Linked DNA regions of Homo sapiens: regions 2, 3, 4 and 5 are each linked to region 1. Evidence: promoter capture Hi-C in 16 types of primary human blood cells and fetal thymus (Javierre and others, 2016). All regions are on one chromosome and are shown on one strand. The core of a region is centred on a gene start or on the middle of the fragment in contact, and the rest is flanking DNA. Distances in the headings are between cores, read along the strand shown.

Region 1 (3,558 bases), core at 268-2,767:
AAGCAATTCTCCTGCCTCAGCCTCCCGAGTAGCTGGGACTACAGACAGGCGCCACCACGCCCAGCTAATTTTTGTATTTTTAGTAGAGATGGGGTTTCACCATGTTGGCCAGGATGGTCTCCATCTCCTGACCTCGTGATCCGCCCACCTCGGCCTCCCAAAGTGCTGGGATTACAGGCGTAAGCCACCACGTCCGGCCTCTTCTGCAAAAACTTCCCTCCACAGACTTCCGGTTTTCCTCCCTTCTCACAGATCTCTCCATATTGGTCCCCTTCTCCTCTTGTCCGTGGTCACCTTCTCGGAGTGGCCTAGGCTTAGTTCTCAGACTTCAATTTATACTCACCCTGGGTGAGCTCATTCAGTCTTATTTCAAATATTTTCTATAGGAAGATCAAATTCGTATCTTTAGCTCTCTCTCTCCTGGGCTCCAGAGGCGTTTATCCCGCTGCCTGTTTAATACCTCTACCAGGATGGTCTCTGGAGTCAGGCTGTCTAGATAGGTATCCTACCCTCTACCTGTGTGGCCATGTGATCCTTAACTTTATCACTGAAATGGAGATGATAATAGTACCTACTTCATGAAGTTATTTGTGAAGATTAAATGCAAAAGTGCATATAAAGCACTTATAACAGCCCTGGCATAAAGGAATTGCTCAATAAATACCTATTTGTTTACTTGTTAAAGGTGAAGGAACCTTACCTATGTGTCTAATTCAACAATGAATTCCCAAGGCCTAGAACAGTGCCTGACATATGCTAGGAGCTCCATATTGACTGACTGAATGAATCGATTTCTATAAAGGGGGAAAAGGTAGTACCTACAGAAATCAGCTCAGTTGCCACAGGTTGTCTTGACTGGAAGCGTCATCTGTGGCTTTTTTCCAACTTCCCAGCACTGTATTTTTGGAATCTGTCTTCTCATTGACCAAGTCCTAGGAATGTAACTGTGGCATTCCTGCCTCTGATATCTGGTTCTGTGGAGCAAGCTGGGTTTTTTTCTTTAAAAATCTAAAATATGATTTATTGTTAGAATCCATTGATAATGTTTTTTCATTTAGACTCAGTCTCAGCAGCGCTAAGTAGAAACCTAGAAAGCGGATGTATATTAGGTAAAAATATGTATATATTGACTATAACACGAATAAAATTTAAGGACGATGTAAGACAATGAATTTTCTTGACAGGTATGGGACTGGGCTGGCACAGTCGGTTAAGTGCCCAAAGGGTATATAAACCCGCGACAGGGCAGAGCGCAGCCCCCGCCCCGCCCCGCCCCGCCCCCACACCCGCCCGCCCCAGAACCCCAGACCCGCCCCTCCCCTGCATCCCGGCTCCGCCCGGCACCTTGCCCCTCCCTCGCCCCGCCCCTCCCCGCCTGAATCCCGGCCCCCGCCTCGCATTTCGGCCCCGCCCTGCACCCCAGTCCCGCCCCTCCCGCACCCCCGCACCCCTGCACCCCCGCATCTCAGCCCCGCCCTGCATCCCGACCCCGCCCTACATCTCGGCCCCGCCCTGCATCCCGGCCAAGCCCGCAGCGCAGGGAGCTGTCTGCAGAGGCCAGGGTGCGCCTGCCACGAATCCCCAGGCACCGGTGGCCGCCGCGGCCCGAGTAGCTCGGCGGGTAAACATGGCCGCACTGACGACGGTTGTGGTAGCGGCTGCGGCCACCGCGGTAGCCGGGGCTGTGGCAGGGGCGGGCGCGGCCACCGGGACCGGCGTGGGAGCGACGCCAGCGCCTCAACAGGTAAATCCGGGAGAACCGAGAGCTGCTCTGGCGGCAGGCGAGGGGCTGCAGGCCCTGGCTGAACAGGTGCCCTCTGCAGCGCCGGCGGGAGGCGCGGCGTTCGCCTCCCCTGCTCGGGGCCTGGCACGCGCTGGGCGTTGCTCTTTGTTGGCTTGTGCGTTTAACAGCTTTTGCAGAGCCGCCTCCATGTGGTTTCGGAGTCGAGGAAGACCTGGGTGGGAACCCGGCTCTGCCGCTTCCTAGCCGCGTGATAAGAACATATGCTGTCGGCGACTCACTTTCTTCTCTAAAAATTGGGAATAGTAACATGCACCTCCCGAGCTTTGGACTAACGTTATGTCTGGGGAGCCCCTGGCACAGTGCTTGATTGGAGGGGGACTCTGTGCTCAGTAATTGGTGGCAGCTCTGTTACTGTACCGGCGCTGGGAACACAAGGAGAAAGACAATATGGGATGGTCGGAGGCAGAGGTGTTTCCAGTGATCGGCTTAGGACCGCTTTCTAGGTGGTGAGGACAAGGTATCTTTGTTCAGATGTTATCAGCTCAGCGAGACTTTCCATGATCTCCCTAAAATGAATCGCCTTACGCGGCACACCCAGTCCCTGTTTCTGGTTTTATTTTTCCCCATAGCACTTAGTACCATATATTATATTACATACTTTATTTCTATTGTTTATGTTTCTCCTCACACCCCTCACCCTCCCTCGCACCCCCATGAGAATGTAAGCTCCATGAGGGCAGAAAGTATTGGAAATTTTATTCTTTATTGTATTCCCAGCACCAAGAACTATGCCTGTTGTGTAGTGCCTGGAACGTAGTATGCACTTACTAAATAATTTGTGGATCAATATAAACCTGAAGGAAGGCTGTCATGAGCTGAGGAGAGGTTCCATCTTTTTCCTCCTTTAAGGAAATACAGTGTCTTTACTCGTAGACCTTCAGGAAATTCCACCTACGGCAAATTTTCTCACACATCCTCTATAATTCTCTTTATTATTCTAACTCTGTCCCAAGTATCTCAGGAAAAAATGTAAAATATATAAATATACATAATACGTAAAGTATTTTTAAGTACTATGCTCAAAAAAATGTGTGACACCATGTTGCTGGCTTTCTCCATCATTTCTCTAAATTCTTGTAGCAATGTTCTGTCTTCTGATCTGCATTTCTTGCGAGTTGCCTAATGTTGTTATTGATGCACACTTTTGTGATGTTTGCCTTCTCAGGGGTTGGATCAGATCACCTGTGGAGCTCTTTCAGATATTTTATCAATCCCCTAGAGGATATCTAGCAATGTTTGGAGACATTTTTGGCTGTCAGAGTGGGGAGCAGGGGGGTGTTGAGGGGCTGCTAGCATCTAATGGATACAGGCCAGAGAACAGCCACCCATAACAAAAATCATCTGGTCCAAAAGTTAGTAGTGCTGAGATTGAGAACCATGGTGTATACTGTCTTACCACTTTAGTAGGGAAAGCAGAGCCTCATTGTTGAGAATCTACCTCAGCATAGTTAGGTAGAATTCTTCACGTGTGTTTGGGCTTTTTTAAAAAAACAAAACAAAACAATGCAGCATTACTGCATGCTATATTGTGATAATGTTTAGGAGTTTACATGTTATCCATTTTTGTACTTCCCCCAGCATACCACACGCACATACCTATACACACAAATTCTACAGCCTAACACCGAACTTGAATATTTGTCATATGATTAAATGAACGAATATTCCTACTGACTTTAACACTGAAACCAACTAGTATTTTCTTGAGAAGAGAGAATTTTCCTGGTGGCAATCTCATGATACTAGAGATGTCT
Region 2 (3,558 bases), core at 278-2,777, 360 kb before region 1:
ACAAGTTTTGACATGCAGTGCTTTCTATGTCATCCAGTTCTAAATATTTTATAATTCTCATTAAAATTTTATTGTGACTTAAGAAACATTGTTATGAAGGCTTATTATATATAAAGTGCATAATTAAGTGAATAACTCAGTGAATTTTACATATGTCTACACTTGTGTAGCTACTGCCCAGATCAAGATATAAAACATTTCCAGCAACCCAAAGAACTTTTCTATACCTCTTTCCCCAAAATACCCCCCAAGAGATAACCGCTATTGACTAATACCATGGATTAGTCTTACCTCTTCTTAATATCATCTAGAAGGAACCATGTGTCCCATTTTGTGACTGATTTCTTTCACTCATCATTATGTCTGTGAGATTTATTCATATTAAAGCAACAGGTTTTTTCCCCCTCTCCATTACTGACAATGAATATACTTATTTGTCCATTCTACTCTCAAGTCATATTTGTATTGCTTCCAGTGTGGGGCTATTATGAGTAAAACTAGTATGAAAGTTCTTATAAATGTCTTTTGCTGGACATTTTTACTCATTTCTGTTGGGAATATAGCTAGCAGTAGAATTTTTGAATTATAGAATAGACATATATTTAGCTTTATTAGATATTTCCAAATTGTTTTTCATAGTGGTTTTTACCAACTTACACTCCCACCAGTATATGTGTGAGAGTTGGTCATTCCACGTTCCATCATATTTGGTATTGTCAGTTTTTTTCTAAATTTTACTTATTTTGGTGTGAAGCGTAGTACCTTAATGTCATTCATGTTTCATTTACCTGCTGACTATAATTCTGAACTCCTTTTTATATGCTAATTGGTCATTTGCATATCTTCTTTTATGAAATGTTAATTCAAACCTTTTTCTGATTTCTAAATTGCATTATTGTCTTTTTATAATTGAGTTGTAAGAGTTCTTTGCATATTCTGCATATGTCTTTTAACAGATATATGTATTGTGAATTTCTTCTCTCAGTTGGTAGTTTGTCTTTTCACTCTCTAAATAATCTCTTTTTATTAACAAAAGTTTGTACTTCAATGAAATCTTTTTTTTTCTCTCATTGGCAGTGCTTTTAGTGTCCTGTTTAAGAAAGGTTTACCCTCCTCAAGGCCATGAAGATTCTCTTATGTATTTTTTAAAAGCTTCACTCTTTTACCTTTACATTTGTTTGTGATCCATTTTATACTGATTTTTTATATTGCATGACAAAAGTATCAAGATTCATTTTCTTTTCCAATTCATGTCATCTGCAAATAATGACGATTTTATTACTTCCATTCCAAACGCTATACCTTTTATTTTTTCTCTTGCCATATTGTACCCATGAATGTTTTTGTAGTGTTTTTTAAAATTTCAAAACATATGAGGGTTTCTAATCTCCTTTTAACGTTGGTTTCTAATTTTGCTGCACTCTTTTCGGAGAACAAGCTGTATAGCATCCATTCTTAGGAATTTATTAAGCCTTGTTTTGTAGCCTTGTACACTATACATTTTTGCAAATGTCACATGTTTGCTTGGTCTCCAGACCCATTCATTCTACCTGTAGAGAAAGATATAGAGAGATGTTGCTCATTTAAGGCATTTGCCGTATCTTGCAGGATAGCCCCCTAACCTTGAAGGTGCTTTCTTTTAGCTGGTGCCAAAATTGTGAGGTCAGCAGGCTATTCTGCTCTTCTGGTGATCCAGCTCCTTTTTGGAGATGGGCAAGACTAGTGAATTCCAGTGGTGTGAACGCATTGTCATACTTTCTTTGCAGTAGTATGAATCATTCCATGACTCAGGGGACAGGGTTGCATTCATTCCCCCTAAGTGTCTATATTTTAATATAATAAGCCTCATGAACTTGAGCATTTAATTAATGCTGCAACCCTTATAATCAGATCCTAAGCTTAGTTCTCAACTACCTCCTCCTGCAGTTATTGGAAATAAGATGTGCTTTTAAAGTTGCATTCAGGGCTCTCTGATTTTCCACATAAATTCTCATCTGGCAATTTCATTTCTCTTTGTCCCTACTTATTCTCCCTAGGGCCTTTAGAACAACCCAGATGACACTATAGTTCCTAAGATCTGTAGAACTCGTAGCAATCAAGTTTTACCGCTACTTGATTTCCCAAAACCTTGACCTCCTGTGTCATCACCAGTGACAGTTTGAGTAACTGTGATACTACTATATGTCAAGGATTGTCCATACCCCATTCCCCCTGTACTCTTCAAATATTGCACAATCCAGTCCAGGATTTTAAGGATTTTACTTTGTTTTCTGGGACCAGTCACAGTATCAATTACTGTGCCAATTAAGTTCCCAGTGGGAAAAAGATGGTGCAGTCAAATTGGGTAATTTGAAGGGACTATTTATAAAAGTGCAATCAGAGTAGGACAAACCATGAGAAATAGTGCAATACTCTGGGACTGTAAATAGTAGAATTTCCAAAAGGCAAAGAGAAGGAGCAATTATGGGAACCTAGTTTAGGAAGTCACATGATAGGAGATAAGATATTTGGGCAAGAGGTTCTGCTCCCAGGCCTAGGCAACCCTGGATGGAGGTAGCTAAGGGAACAAATACCTCTACCTTACTTTTTGCCCTCCCTCAGATTTTCTACCAGGAATCTTCAAACCCAAATCCAAATGCAAAGGAAATTTATACAACAAGAGAGTCTGTTGAGGTAGAATATACCCACAGGATACCCTCTCAGGACACACATAAGGATGGAAAGGAATGAAGAGTGGATCTAGAAGGGCAATCATAAAATATCAAGCAAAATATGAATTGGATCTTAATAATGTTAAAATTTGTGGTTCCTTAAAGATGTCCAAATGTAGATGCTGAGTAGTCATCAATGGCAAATAGACCATATTTAAAGCTGTGGGTGTAGAGGGCCTATAAACTGAGCCTCGTTGTGCATTAATATTGGGTTGAGGAAGATGGTCTTGCAAAGGAGACTGAGAAAAAGTAGCTGAGGAGTTGGGAAGAAAGTCAGAAAGGGTGGTATAACAAAAGACAAGGAAAAGGTGTTTCAAGACGATGAAAGTCTACAGTGCTCAACCCTCTGATAATCAAGTAGGATGAACAGTGAAAATGTTCATTACCTCTCCTCTGCCATATGTCATCCCTTACAGGACCATCCTTACACCTGAGCTAGAGGGGCCACTGCCCTGGGATCCACACAGTAGAGGGCTCTGCATATCATAAACACACACACACAATTCACTTATCAGTCACCCTTCAGGATCATTCTGGTCATAGGGAAATTCTTCTCCACCTCTCTTCCCCTATGTCCTTAAAACAAAAAGTCACTGTGTCCATAAACTTGAAGGTTTGTGGTTTGTACTGCTGCTGACATCAGAGAAACAAACAGCTTCAGAATGCAGGAAGATTTAAACAGTAGTAACAGTTTAAAAACAAAAGACAAATTAATTAACTTTTCACACTGTCCTCTTAGCAAGAATAAAATAGATTCTTTTATGTAGAAGTATTCTTTCCCAGTAAGGTCAAACAGCATCTATATTCTTCCTTTTCATTATCTTTCAATTCACAATTCCAGAGGTAC
Region 3 (3,558 bases), core at 535-3,034, 320 kb before region 1:
GAGTCAGTGCTCTTACCCAGGTAAATAAAAAAATCAGCAATATAATGTTGGTATATTTAAAAGGAGGAAAAAAGCATAATTTAATATCATGCACTAACTGATGAGCATGGAATTTTGAGACTGACAGTCTTTAAAATCTATCTTAATTCTTACATGTAGGCATTTCACAGAGAACTTCAGACTTTTGTAGTGAAAAATAATGTTGAAAGATTTTATGAACTTTTAATTGTAAAGAGAAAGAAGCATTAAAATAAGGAGGAAGATCACTAAGGTAGAAACATCAGTGGTAAAAGAAGGTTGGGAAGGCTGAGCAGTGTTCCAATCTTCTGAAGCATTTTCTTTAATCCCTGAAGGAATGTTGCTGTCATACTCAGGAGGCTGGTGTAACTGGAAGCAAAATGATGCCTAAATTAGTAGATAAATAATACCATATCATAGCCTTTATACCATTACTTAGTGTTACTCAAGCTGCTGTAACAGTAACTTGTGCTGTAACTTTAGGTGAAATATTGAAGATTAATGGTAAGTCATCTCACAAAAATAGTTACAAAAGCTAAATTCAGATTTATTTTGGAGACATAGAGAAAGCGTAAAAAATTTAAACCCAGTGAACAACTATTGCTTAGGTGATGAGGACTGTTTTATTTCTAGTTCAAATACAGCAAAATCCAAAATGCTTCAAAATCCAAAACTTTTTTTTAGCTCCAACCTGATGACACAAGTGGAAGATTGTTACATCTGATCTCATGACACATCATTGAAAATATCATATACAGTTGCCTTAAGGCTGCATGTATAAGGCATATATGAAACATAAATGAATTTCATGTCTAGACCTGGGTTCCATCACAAAGATATCTCATTATGTATATGTAGACATTCCAAAATCAGAAAAAATCTGAAATTCAAAGCACTTCTGGTCCCAAACATTTTGGATAAGGGATACTCAACCTGTATGGGCTTAGATCGTATCTAAAAGTTACTCAATTAGGCATGAAAAAGAATTATTTACCACTTATTCGTTAACATCTTAAACTGGTATTTTAGTGTTCCCAGGTTCTATTTAGTCTCTTGGCCAAAGTCATGGTGAAAGAAACAGCTTTAAGAATGTGTAAAAGCCTTAATTCATAAACCTGTTGTTAGAATTAGCAAGATATATTCAAATACTCTTAATTTTAGAAATGTTCTCTTTATTTTAAGGTCTTGTGTGAAGGACACCTTGCTTTGTAAAATGATATTTCTTTGGGGCCATTACCTTAACCTGTATCCATTCCTTCATGAATTTTAACTTGTATAAGGTGGCTTGTTCTAAAAACCTAAGTGGGTAAATATAAGAAATGAATGGTAATAAAGCAGTTAGTATCATACCCGTCTTTATCCATGCTACATTTTTTATTTTTCTCAGTCTTATTTTTCTACTTTCAAAAAGATAATGTATCATATAATAGGGATCATTATAAAGCAACTTTTCATACTTTAAAATTGAAAATTACCAGCTAGTAAGTTCAGAACAAAATTACCAGCTAGTAAGTTCAGAACAAAATTACCAGCTAGTAATGCAGAATAAATGATAAAAGTTTTACTCTCACCATTTTTTACCTGTTGATAAAATGATGGATTTAGAGTAGGCAATGATCAGCAGTCACTACTAAAACCATTAAGTAAAAGGCTGATGGGGAACTTTATACTGAGTGGATCAGACTGAATGATCATTCACAAATGGAGAGATAACTAGACATTATGTGCCTTATCATAATATGCAGTAAGAAGTACACAACATTGACTACTAGACGTTCCCACCCAGAACATTGCACCTGAATTCCATCAAGTCTCTAGCTCCAAATGCCAGTTTACAAGAAATACAGAGGATAAAGGAATAACATGGGAATGCAATCAACAAAATCCAGGACGTGGGAAATGCCACAGGATAGGGGTTGATGGCAAGGAAAAAAGGAAAAACAAGGAAGAAAGCCTAAAGATTAATGAACACTTACATCAGCCAAATGATTGTGTTAACCTTACTTGGATTCTTACTTGAAAACCAACTTTGAAACAATAGGGGAAATTTGAACACTATTTCCTGACTTTAAGGAACTGTTTTAGATTATTTCATGTGTTATAATACTATTGGGGTTATGTTTTTAAAAAGTGTTATCTTTTAGAAATAAAGTATAAAAGTATTTGTAGCTGAAGTGATAAAATATCTGAGATTTGCTTTAAAAATAATCGGGGAATGTAGATGAAGCAAGATTAGCCATGTGTTAATCTTTGTTGACATGGTGGGGGTTCATTGTACTTTTCTCAATACTTTTGAATATATATGGAAGTTTTCACTGTAAAAGTTTTTTAAAAATCACATCTCAGGCCAGGCGTGGTGGCTTACGCCTGTAATCCCAGCACTTTGGGAGGCCGAGGCGGGCGGATCATGAGGTCAGTAGTTAGAGACCAGCCTGACCAACATGGTAAAACCCTGTTTCTACTAAAAATACAAAAATTAGCTGGATGTGGTGGAGTGCACCTGTAATCCCAGCTACTCAGGAGGCTGAGGCAGGAGAATCACTTGAACCTAGGAGGTGGAAGTTGCAGTGAGCCAAGATTGCGCCATTGCACTCCAGCCTGGGTGACAGAGCGAGACTCCATCTCAAAAAAAGTCACATCTCAAAAGTTGTAGAATGCATGTAATTTAATTTCTGTGATTTTCTCTAATCCAGTAGTTCTTAACCCATACCCCATGGACAGGCTTGAAGGAGTTCCTAAATATTCTGCATTTGGGTCAACTCCTTGCCTTTATGTGTACTTTCCAGGTGAAGAATCCTTGGGCAATATGCCATTTTGAGAATATAGAGAAAGCAAATCCTAGAAGCACATCTCTCTCTAGCTCCTCATCACAAATTAGGAATCATTTTAGCACAGTTTTGCAAATTTTTCATTCCTAGGGGCCTGAACAAAGCAAGGACAACAAAAATATTTGACTCTTCTAATAGGTTAATGCAGTTTGTTGGCCTCATAATTTCTTACATTTTTTAAAAGCACTTTTAATAGAATATTTTAATAATTATTCCTTTCATACTTACTTTGGCAGAACTTCATTAAACATTATTTTCTAATTTCTATATTCCTTAACTAAAATTAAAACAAACTTAGATTTGTTTTTAAAACTCTTAATACAGGCTTGTTGCATAAAATAATAATAAAACATATATTTTACCACTAGGATTAAGTTTGCAGCAGTAGAAAAATATTAAACCATGGTATACAAAAAAACTAGTCATTTAACCTTTCTCAAAACAGATGGTATAATAAATGTATAAAAAGGCAAGCTGTTATCAGCTAAAGGCTCACAAATTGATTACACAGTGAAACTGAAACTTGCATCCTGTTGGGAACATACATATTGGTTTAGTTGACTGGCATGAGGGAAAAGGCTGATTTAACAAATAGATAAATGTAAAAAAACAAAGTCATTCCTATTCTGATAGATCCCTTTCAGATTTAAAAGTTACTAACGATTTTGATGTTGTGGCTGTTTTAAACATAGTTCAAAGAACTTTGACTAAT
Region 4 (3,558 bases), core at 494-2,993, 300 kb before region 1:
ATCCTCTTTGAAAGATTTAATCTAAGTCTCCATTTTCATTTTCCCTGTTTCTTCCTACCCCCTCTCATCTGAGGCTTTTTGTCCCCATTACCCCCTGCATGGTCCTGATGTTGCCAATGACTGTCTTGTGAAATCCAGTGTCTGTGCACAGTTCTCATCTTTCCTGACCCCTCAGTAACATTTGATCACTCCCTCCTCAATATTCTTTTTTCTTCACTAATGTTCTTCACTAATATTCTTTCTTCTTCACTTGGCTTCCAGGTCACCATATTCTGCATTTCATTCTGCTTCATTGTGTCTCCAGGCTTCCCCACCACTAAATCTTAGTATGCCACAGAGTTCATTTCTTGGCCATATTTTTCTAGCCATACTTTCCCCCAGGACAATTTGTATCCCAAGCCATATTCCTTGGCTATAAATAATATCTATCAGCTGATGACTTCCAAAATTTTATTCCTAGCTTTAGTTCGCTTCTGAGCTCCAGATGTATGTGTATGTCCAGCTGTTTACTCAGCATCTCCACTTGGAAGTCTGATAGGCATTTAAATTTAGTATGGACAGATAGAACTACTGATGCCAGATTCACCAAGTTCTCCCTCTGTTTCCCCTCAGCTCCCTCCCTTATCTCAATAAACAGCCTCAGTTACTGCCATTCAAGTAGGCCGGAATTCTAGGAATTTACTCTTGACTTCTCTTTTTAGGTCAGACTCCGCATCCAAGCATCCAACAAAATCTGTTGACTCTACCCAGATCTGCCCACCTCTCTCTCCCTCTCTAAGCTAAGCCACAGTCCTCTCCTACCTACATGATTGAGAAGTCTCTGCCTCTGCCCTTGCTCCTCTACAGTCTTTTCCAAATAGCAGTGATTTTTGTCATACATACTCAGAACTTTCATTTCCCTTCAAAACCTTCTGGTGGCTTCTTATCAGAATCACAAAAAAAAAGAAAGAAAAAAAAAAGAAAAGAAAAACAGGCTTACAATGGCTTTAAAGCCCTGTGTGATCTAGTCCCTGACTAGTTCTCTGAACTCATCTCCTGACTTCCCTCTCATCCACTCCACTGTAGTAACACTGATTGTGCTGCTGTTGCCTTTGCCTGCAGCTGGTGTCTGCTAGACCATTGCACACTGTACTCCCTCACTTCTCTGTTAGCATGCTGCCTCAGGGGTTACTGTGCTATTGCAGCAAGATCTCTTTTGCTGCTGGGCCTGTGCGGTAGGTTGCTATTAAATACTGAATGCTACTCTCTAGTATTCCATGAAGCTTATGGAACCTTTAAAACATTGTTGGTTGCTTGAGTTCCCTAATATTAAAAATGCACAACCATTTTTCTTTTGAGCCTAATTTTGATAAGATGGACAGTTTGCCTTTAAGTTCTATGTTTTTATAAAATCTCTTCCTGATTTGGAGATTTGCCCTTTACCATCAGTTTTCATTTTTAGATACAGAAAATGGAAGAAAAATATCCAGTTCACTAAAAAGAATATGTAATAATATTTGGTGGGGGGCAGTTACTTTGCCCCCCTCCCCCCACCAATAGGGGCAATAGGAAATAGGAAGCAATAATCTAACATTTGGAGACTCTTTGAATGGTACCAGCAGCAGGTAGTTTATGGGAAGAAGAAAAATAAAGACACTTGTTCAGAGAATAATATACAAGTTTCTAAGTTCTGCAGTGACTAAGCCAATGTCAGAGTTGTGAAGATTTTATAAGATATTATATAAATTGAACTTTTTTTTTTTTTTTTTTGAGACAAGGTCTTGCTATGTTGCCCAGGCTGGTCTTAAACTCACAGGCTCAAGCAATTTTCCCACCTCAACCTCCCAAATAGCTGGGCCTAGAGGCACATACCACTGCATCTGGCTCCAGTTCTCTTTTGAGGACTATGTAGAAATGAAAAACAATATTTTCATCTTTATGAAGAGGTGTAGCAACTAAAAGATTGTTTAATTTATAATCCTTATTTCTCATTTTAATCTCAAGGAACTGGTTCTGTTATCAGTAGCGTATGTACTATCACCCCTTCTTGTAAAAGAAAAGAAGAAAATTCCTTCTTATTTCAGAATTAGGATTTAAGATACTTTAATAAATATTTCCAATATAAGATTAAATTAAATTAAATAATAAGTAGATTTGGAATATCGAACAGAGAGAAGAGTAGGGGGGTTAAGCAGAAACTAGGAGTGAAGTTATTAATAGTATCAAAACACTTGCCATAAGCTTCTGTCTGTTGGCCAGAGCACTCATTAACGTGGAGCTTCCTAGCAACTGAGTGAAGAGATAGGGTCCACAAGATGAAAAAGCAGTGCCCAGGTGAAGATCGGATAGAAGCATTTTTTTAAACATTTACTTGCTCAAGGACCTGTTTTAGGTACGATGAAGATGAATGTTCTGTCCTTTGGTACTTAAGAAGAGTGTTGGAGAAGCCCTGTTTGGTTTAGAGTTAGCAAACCCATGCTCTTGGAATATTTGCATATAAATAAAAAACAGATGAAATAGAGCTAAACCTGGAGATAGGCTAAACTCATTTGGAACGTAGAGATAGAGCATGTAAGGAAGACACTTACCAAAGGTGTTGGAAAAGATATATATAAGGAAGATACTATTTAGATGGAAATCAAATCAACATAATTGACATAATTGTTGACAATTATTGACCTAATTGATATTTATAAAAATATAAAGCCTAGAAAATGAATTTTTATTTACTAAAAAACTATTTTTTCAGACTGTGTGATCATTGTTCAAAAGGTGAACATGTATGTGTATATATGTGTACATGTGAAGAACACGTGAGTTCTTCACATATATATGAAGGAATACATATATATACACATTTATATATTCTTATGCATATACCATTCACAGAGGATCAATGTTACCTTTTTGGTATTCACTTGGCCCATGAACAACATGGGTTTGTATTATGTGGGTCCCCTCATATGTGGATTTTCTCCAACAAAACATGGATCAAAAATGCGGTATTCCAGGATGCAAAACCCACACATACGGAGGGCTGACTTTTTGTATACGCAGGCTCTGCAGGCTGACTGTGGGACTTGAGTATTCTTGGATTTTGGTATATGCAGGGGTCCTGGAACCCCTGGAATCAGTCTTCCCTACCCTTAAGTATACCAAGAGACGACAGTACTTCTTTCTAATCTATTTTCTCTGCATTTTGTTTAACAAAGCTGAGATCATATTCTGTATACTATTTTACAGTCAGTTCCTTTTCTTTAATTACATTTCATTTTCGTGTCATGAGAAGCGTTTTTCTCATGTCATTAAAATTGTTCATAACATTCATAAACATTTTTAATGGTTTAATAGGATTCGATCATATGAATAATGTGACATAGTTAATATTATCATTCCCCAGTTTTTGGATATTTTTATTTTTACCTCCAATGGAATTTTGACTAGCTTATGATTGTACAAGATCTCTTATGATAATAAAATATAGTCATATAACTCATACTTCAAATATGCCAGAAAATATCTCCATAGATTGCATGACAAGAGAAAGCTAAGCCAGTTTGAGAAACTGACAAAAAGGTC
Region 5 (3,558 bases), core at 296-2,795, 260 kb before region 1:
GGACACAGTTAGGGCCTGGAGGCAAGGAAAACACAGCGTTTAACATTGAAAGGTCCAGAAATGACCTATATCCTTCTCTTCAGAAGAATTCATTCTCAAAATTCTTTGTTCATGCACATACTTCCTGACAATAAAAACAAAACAAAACAAAACAAAACAAAAAATCAGTCTCCATGAACAGTACATACAAACTGTTGTAAACCTTTCTTCCTTTAACTTCCTCTCACCGCTCCCCCACCCCCACCTCCCAGAGCGCACAGAATAACAAAAGAAATGTGACAGTTATTGCTAGGTTCCTGGCATTACTACTGCCTGGCCCTGAGAGACAGGAAAGGACCCACAGAGCTCACAGATTCACAGATAGTGAATGAGGCATGAAAACAGTGAGGAGACTGAGGACTATGAGAATAAACTAGGACCCAACTTAGTCCTTAGGGTTAGGGCAAGTATGAGGGGCATTTAAGTGGAGGCCTAGTGGTAGCGTGGCAAGGTAGGCATCGGCCAGGAAAAGAGTGTGTGTGGGGCCTGAAGCCGAGGAACCAGCAAGAGTCTGACATGCAGGCAGAAAGCAATACCAATAAGGCAGCGAGGAGTTGTCAGGGAGGAGAGAGGTACGAATCAAGGATGTGGGGCAGGTGCAGGCCAGAGCCTGGCGGGCTTTGGAAACCACATGAATATTTGTAAACTTTTCCCTAAGAGCAGGGAGAAGCTGCTGAATCTAAAGGAGCCTCATGACATATGTGCCTTTCTCTCTGAGTAGCTGGGGGAAATTTGGTTAAGGAGGCAAGAGCAGTTGTAGGAAGGCCTGTTAGGAGGCTAATGCCTCAGTCTGGAAGGGTTAATGGGACCATCTGAAAAACTCTGTCACCTGGCACCACCACTCCTACATTCACCACCAAGTTATTTCTCTGCCAAGTGAAAAACACTTTGCATTCATCACTAGTCTGGATACTCCATGATTACAGAGTTCTGTGGACTGCATGGTCTGGTTCCTACCTGCCTCTAGCTTGGGGGGTCCACATCTCCCTCTTATTCACAATACTCCACACGTGTTGGCTTTCTATTTGCTTTCACAGTGCACTGAGTTTTTTCTCACTTCAAGACATGTCCTTAGGAAACAGTGTTTACTTCTACCTGGACTCCTCCTCCTTGCTCTACTCACTTCCTAATTAACTGCTCCTCCTCTGGCTTTCACATCAAGTAACACTTTCTCAAAGCAGCCCATGTTGACCCCTTAGAATAGGTCATGGCTTCTGTTGCACACCCTTAAAAGCATATGTGTTTCTTCTTCCTAGTGCTGACCTCACTTTGTATATGTTATGTTTGTTTACTATTTGTCAGAAATCTTTTGATAGCAATGAATGAAATCCAACTCAAATTGGCCTAAACAAAAAACAAAAAGCGTTGGAAGACGGATGTGTTTGTTCATATATCCGAGAGGCTAGGACAGGGTTAGCATGTTGCCTAACTCCAGGGAGCACTGTTCAGTGATTCTGGAGGCAAGCAACACAGTGGCACTGGCCAGGGGATATTTGACCTCTGACATGGCGGGATCTAGGGGTTCAGACCATGCCATGGTTCCATCTCTCCTTCAGTTATGTTGATTTTGGCATGGACATCCTCATGGAGCCTATCATAGCGGGCAGGGTTCAGAGGATGGGATTTCCCAGATGAAGTGTTTACTCAAAGAAACTGGAAACAGCAAAACAAAAGGGGTAAGTGCAAACCATAATCAACATGAGCCATCCACAAATGATCCAGTGGAATCTGGTCACATATCAGATCTGAAGGGCAAATAAGTCTACAAATGGGCAGTGAATCTAGGGATTAGGTGTCCAGCAGTCAGGAATGGGAGAAGAAAGCAGGTTGGAAGCAAGTTAGAGGAAACTGCTCAGGATAGAAAACAAGACCAAGGTGGTGGGGCCCATTCTTGCTGGTGTTTCTCCAGTGATGGGGATGTGGTCCTGCAAGCTATAAGCTGCAGGCCAGGTCCCAAATAGATGGGAGTCCTTCAGGGAGACAACTATACACAGCAGCTCAGCCCCAGGACCTAGGGACTGAGGGGGTATGGAGAATGGCAAATTGGAGACAGTAGACCCATTACTGAGGAAATATACTGGGGAGGCAACGTAGTACCTACATTCTGGCCCAGACTGTCTAAAGTCAGACAAATTCCACCCTGCCATTTACTAGCCATGTGAATTTGTTTAAGTTACTCAACTTCTCTAACCCTTGGTTTCTCCATCTGTATAGAAGTACTTACAATGTCTGTTATAAAAATTAACGTAGCAATGCTAAACCTTTTTTGCACAGCCTCTTTCACACAGAAACACTAAATAAATGCTCACTGCTATTATTAGCAGCAAACTATAATACTAATTAGCAACAAAGGAAACTAAGAAACAATTTGGAAACCCATGGTCAGCACAAGAGCTGTCATTGCTAGCTCTGAATTGCCATGCCCCTTTCTTCTTTAGGTCTTTGCACAAGGTATTCCACATTCAGATCTCAGCTCATACATTCCTTCCTCGAGGTTGGGGGTCCTGCTGTTCTAGAGGTGCTGGCCTGATGAGTGCGCTAAAGACATTTGAACCTGTCTCCCTGTATCTAGTTTGGCCTGGAAACTAGGGGAAAGGCTGAATCTTCCTATTCAAAGTCCAGCTTGTGCCTGAACAGAGGTGGACTGAGTCTCCACATCCACTCATTCATTTTCACTATGCAAATATTCACTGAGGACAACCTGTGTGCCACACACTCTGCTGAATTATGGTGACTCAGAATTGAACATCCAAACATGGCCCCTGCCCTCCTGGGCCTTCCAGTTGTATAAAGGAAATAGATAAAGCATCACAAGGATCCTAAGAGAGGAAGTAAAGGGCACAATGGCAGCTATGGGGAGTGGAGGAAGTAGGCAGGGCAATATGTGGCATCCAGTTATAACAAGGGAGCTACAGAGGCTGGGAAATTGGCAGGGCCCACCCCCACCCTGAGTCCACGTGTACACATTTTTCTTTGAAACGGGCCAACAGAAACCTTGCATGTATATCCTAGCAGTTTTCCTCTACAAACAGTTTAAAAATACATATTTCTTACAGTAGCTAGGAATGTAAAATAAGGTATAGGACCTGGAAAACAATGGGTTCTTAAAAATAATGTCAATATTGGTGGTTGTTTAGCATCATTATCATCACTGTCAGTGTCCTGCTGATGATAGGTACAAGGTTGAGTGTGAGATTGCTGTCAGCCTGTGGAAGATGTAAAAAGCACAGTTTTCACCATTTTGCCTCCCAAGACATAAATAGAGATGAACAGGTTGTAGACAGAGCAAAGGATCAACTGGGGAGACTGTAGCTCTCAGCCTAATATTCTCAGATGAAGGTAAGGGTCACATAATTTTTCACCGAAGCAAGGCCTTTGACTTCTCCCCTAAATCCTTCAAACCTTATAAGCTACTCCAAGAACAACAATAACAATGATAACAAAACAAAACCAACTTAAGAGCCAACAACAGCTTGGGTGAATCCACACTTCCATTAATCTAGTCCTCCAGAAAAGGTT

Evidence for each region. Contacts are between HindIII fragments. The CHiCAGO score rates a contact against its expected background, and 5 or more counts as called.
Region 2: a fragment that was not itself captured here is called in contact with the fragment with the promoter of CCDC112 in region 1 in 2 of 17 cell types (neutrophils and fetal thymus); the score reaches 6.8 in neutrophils.
Region 3: a contact is called between a fragment that was not itself captured here and the fragment with the promoter of CCDC112 in region 1, in 12 of 17 cell types (monocytes, activated CD4 T cells, naive CD4 T cells and 9 more). The highest score is 10.9, in monocytes.
Region 4: a contact is called between a fragment that was not itself captured here and the fragment with the promoter of CCDC112 in region 1, in 17 of 17 cell types (M0 macrophages, M1 macrophages, M2 macrophages and 14 more). The highest score is 23.0, in M0 macrophages.
Region 5: a contact is called between a fragment that was not itself captured here and the fragment with the promoter of CCDC112 in region 1, in 17 of 17 cell types (total CD4 T cells, M2 macrophages, naive CD8 T cells and 14 more). The highest score is 12.2, in total CD4 T cells.

Annotation. Positions count from the first base shown.
Region 1 is chr5:115,294,613-115,298,170 of GRCh38, reverse strand. It overlaps CCDC112 (coiled-coil domain containing 112), which reads left to right and starts at 1,517. Exons shown (of 10, transcript NM_001040440.3): 1 at 1,517-1,744. The coding sequence starts at 1,628. LOC105379129 (a long non-coding RNA gene) reads right to left here and starts at 1,243. Exons shown (of 5, transcript XR_948684.3): 1 at 823-1,243. RefSeq lists a silencer at 1,419-1,868. The HindIII fragment of the contact is 8,729 bases long and covers 1-3,558 here.
Region 2 is chr5:115,656,228-115,659,785 of GRCh38, reverse strand. All of the region lies in intron 3 of LOC102467217 (a long non-coding RNA gene), which reads left to right. Among named protein-coding and RNA genes, the nearest start is that of TMED7-TICAM2, 32 kb to the right of the region's middle. The HindIII fragment of the contact is 746 bases long and covers 1,155-1,900 here.
Region 3 is chr5:115,616,897-115,620,454 of GRCh38, reverse strand. It overlaps TMED7-TICAM2 (TMED7-TICAM2 readthrough), which reads left to right. Exons shown (of 4, transcript NM_001164469.4): 2 at 1-20. TMED7 (transmembrane p24 trafficking protein 7) reads left to right here. Exons shown (of 3, transcript NM_181836.6): 2 at 1-20. It overlaps TICAM2-AS1 (TICAM2 antisense RNA 1), which reads right to left. Exons shown (of 3, transcript NR_109875.1): 3 at 36-387. Among named protein-coding and RNA genes, the nearest start is that of TMED7, 7.4 kb to the left of the region's middle. The HindIII fragment of the contact is 4,837 bases long and covers 1-3,558 here.
Region 4 is chr5:115,597,254-115,600,811 of GRCh38, reverse strand. All of the region lies in intron 3 of TMED7-TICAM2 (TMED7-TICAM2 readthrough), which reads left to right. The region is part of intron 1 of TICAM2 (TIR domain containing adaptor molecule 2); the gene reads left to right. Among named protein-coding and RNA genes, the nearest start is that of TICAM2-AS1, 3.1 kb to the left of the region's middle. The HindIII fragment of the contact is 958 bases long and covers 1,265-2,222 here.
Region 5 is chr5:115,554,556-115,558,113 of GRCh38, reverse strand. No RefSeq gene overlaps it. Among named protein-coding and RNA genes, the nearest start is that of FEM1C, 12 kb to the right of the region's middle. The HindIII fragment of the contact is 6,980 bases long and covers 1-3,558 here.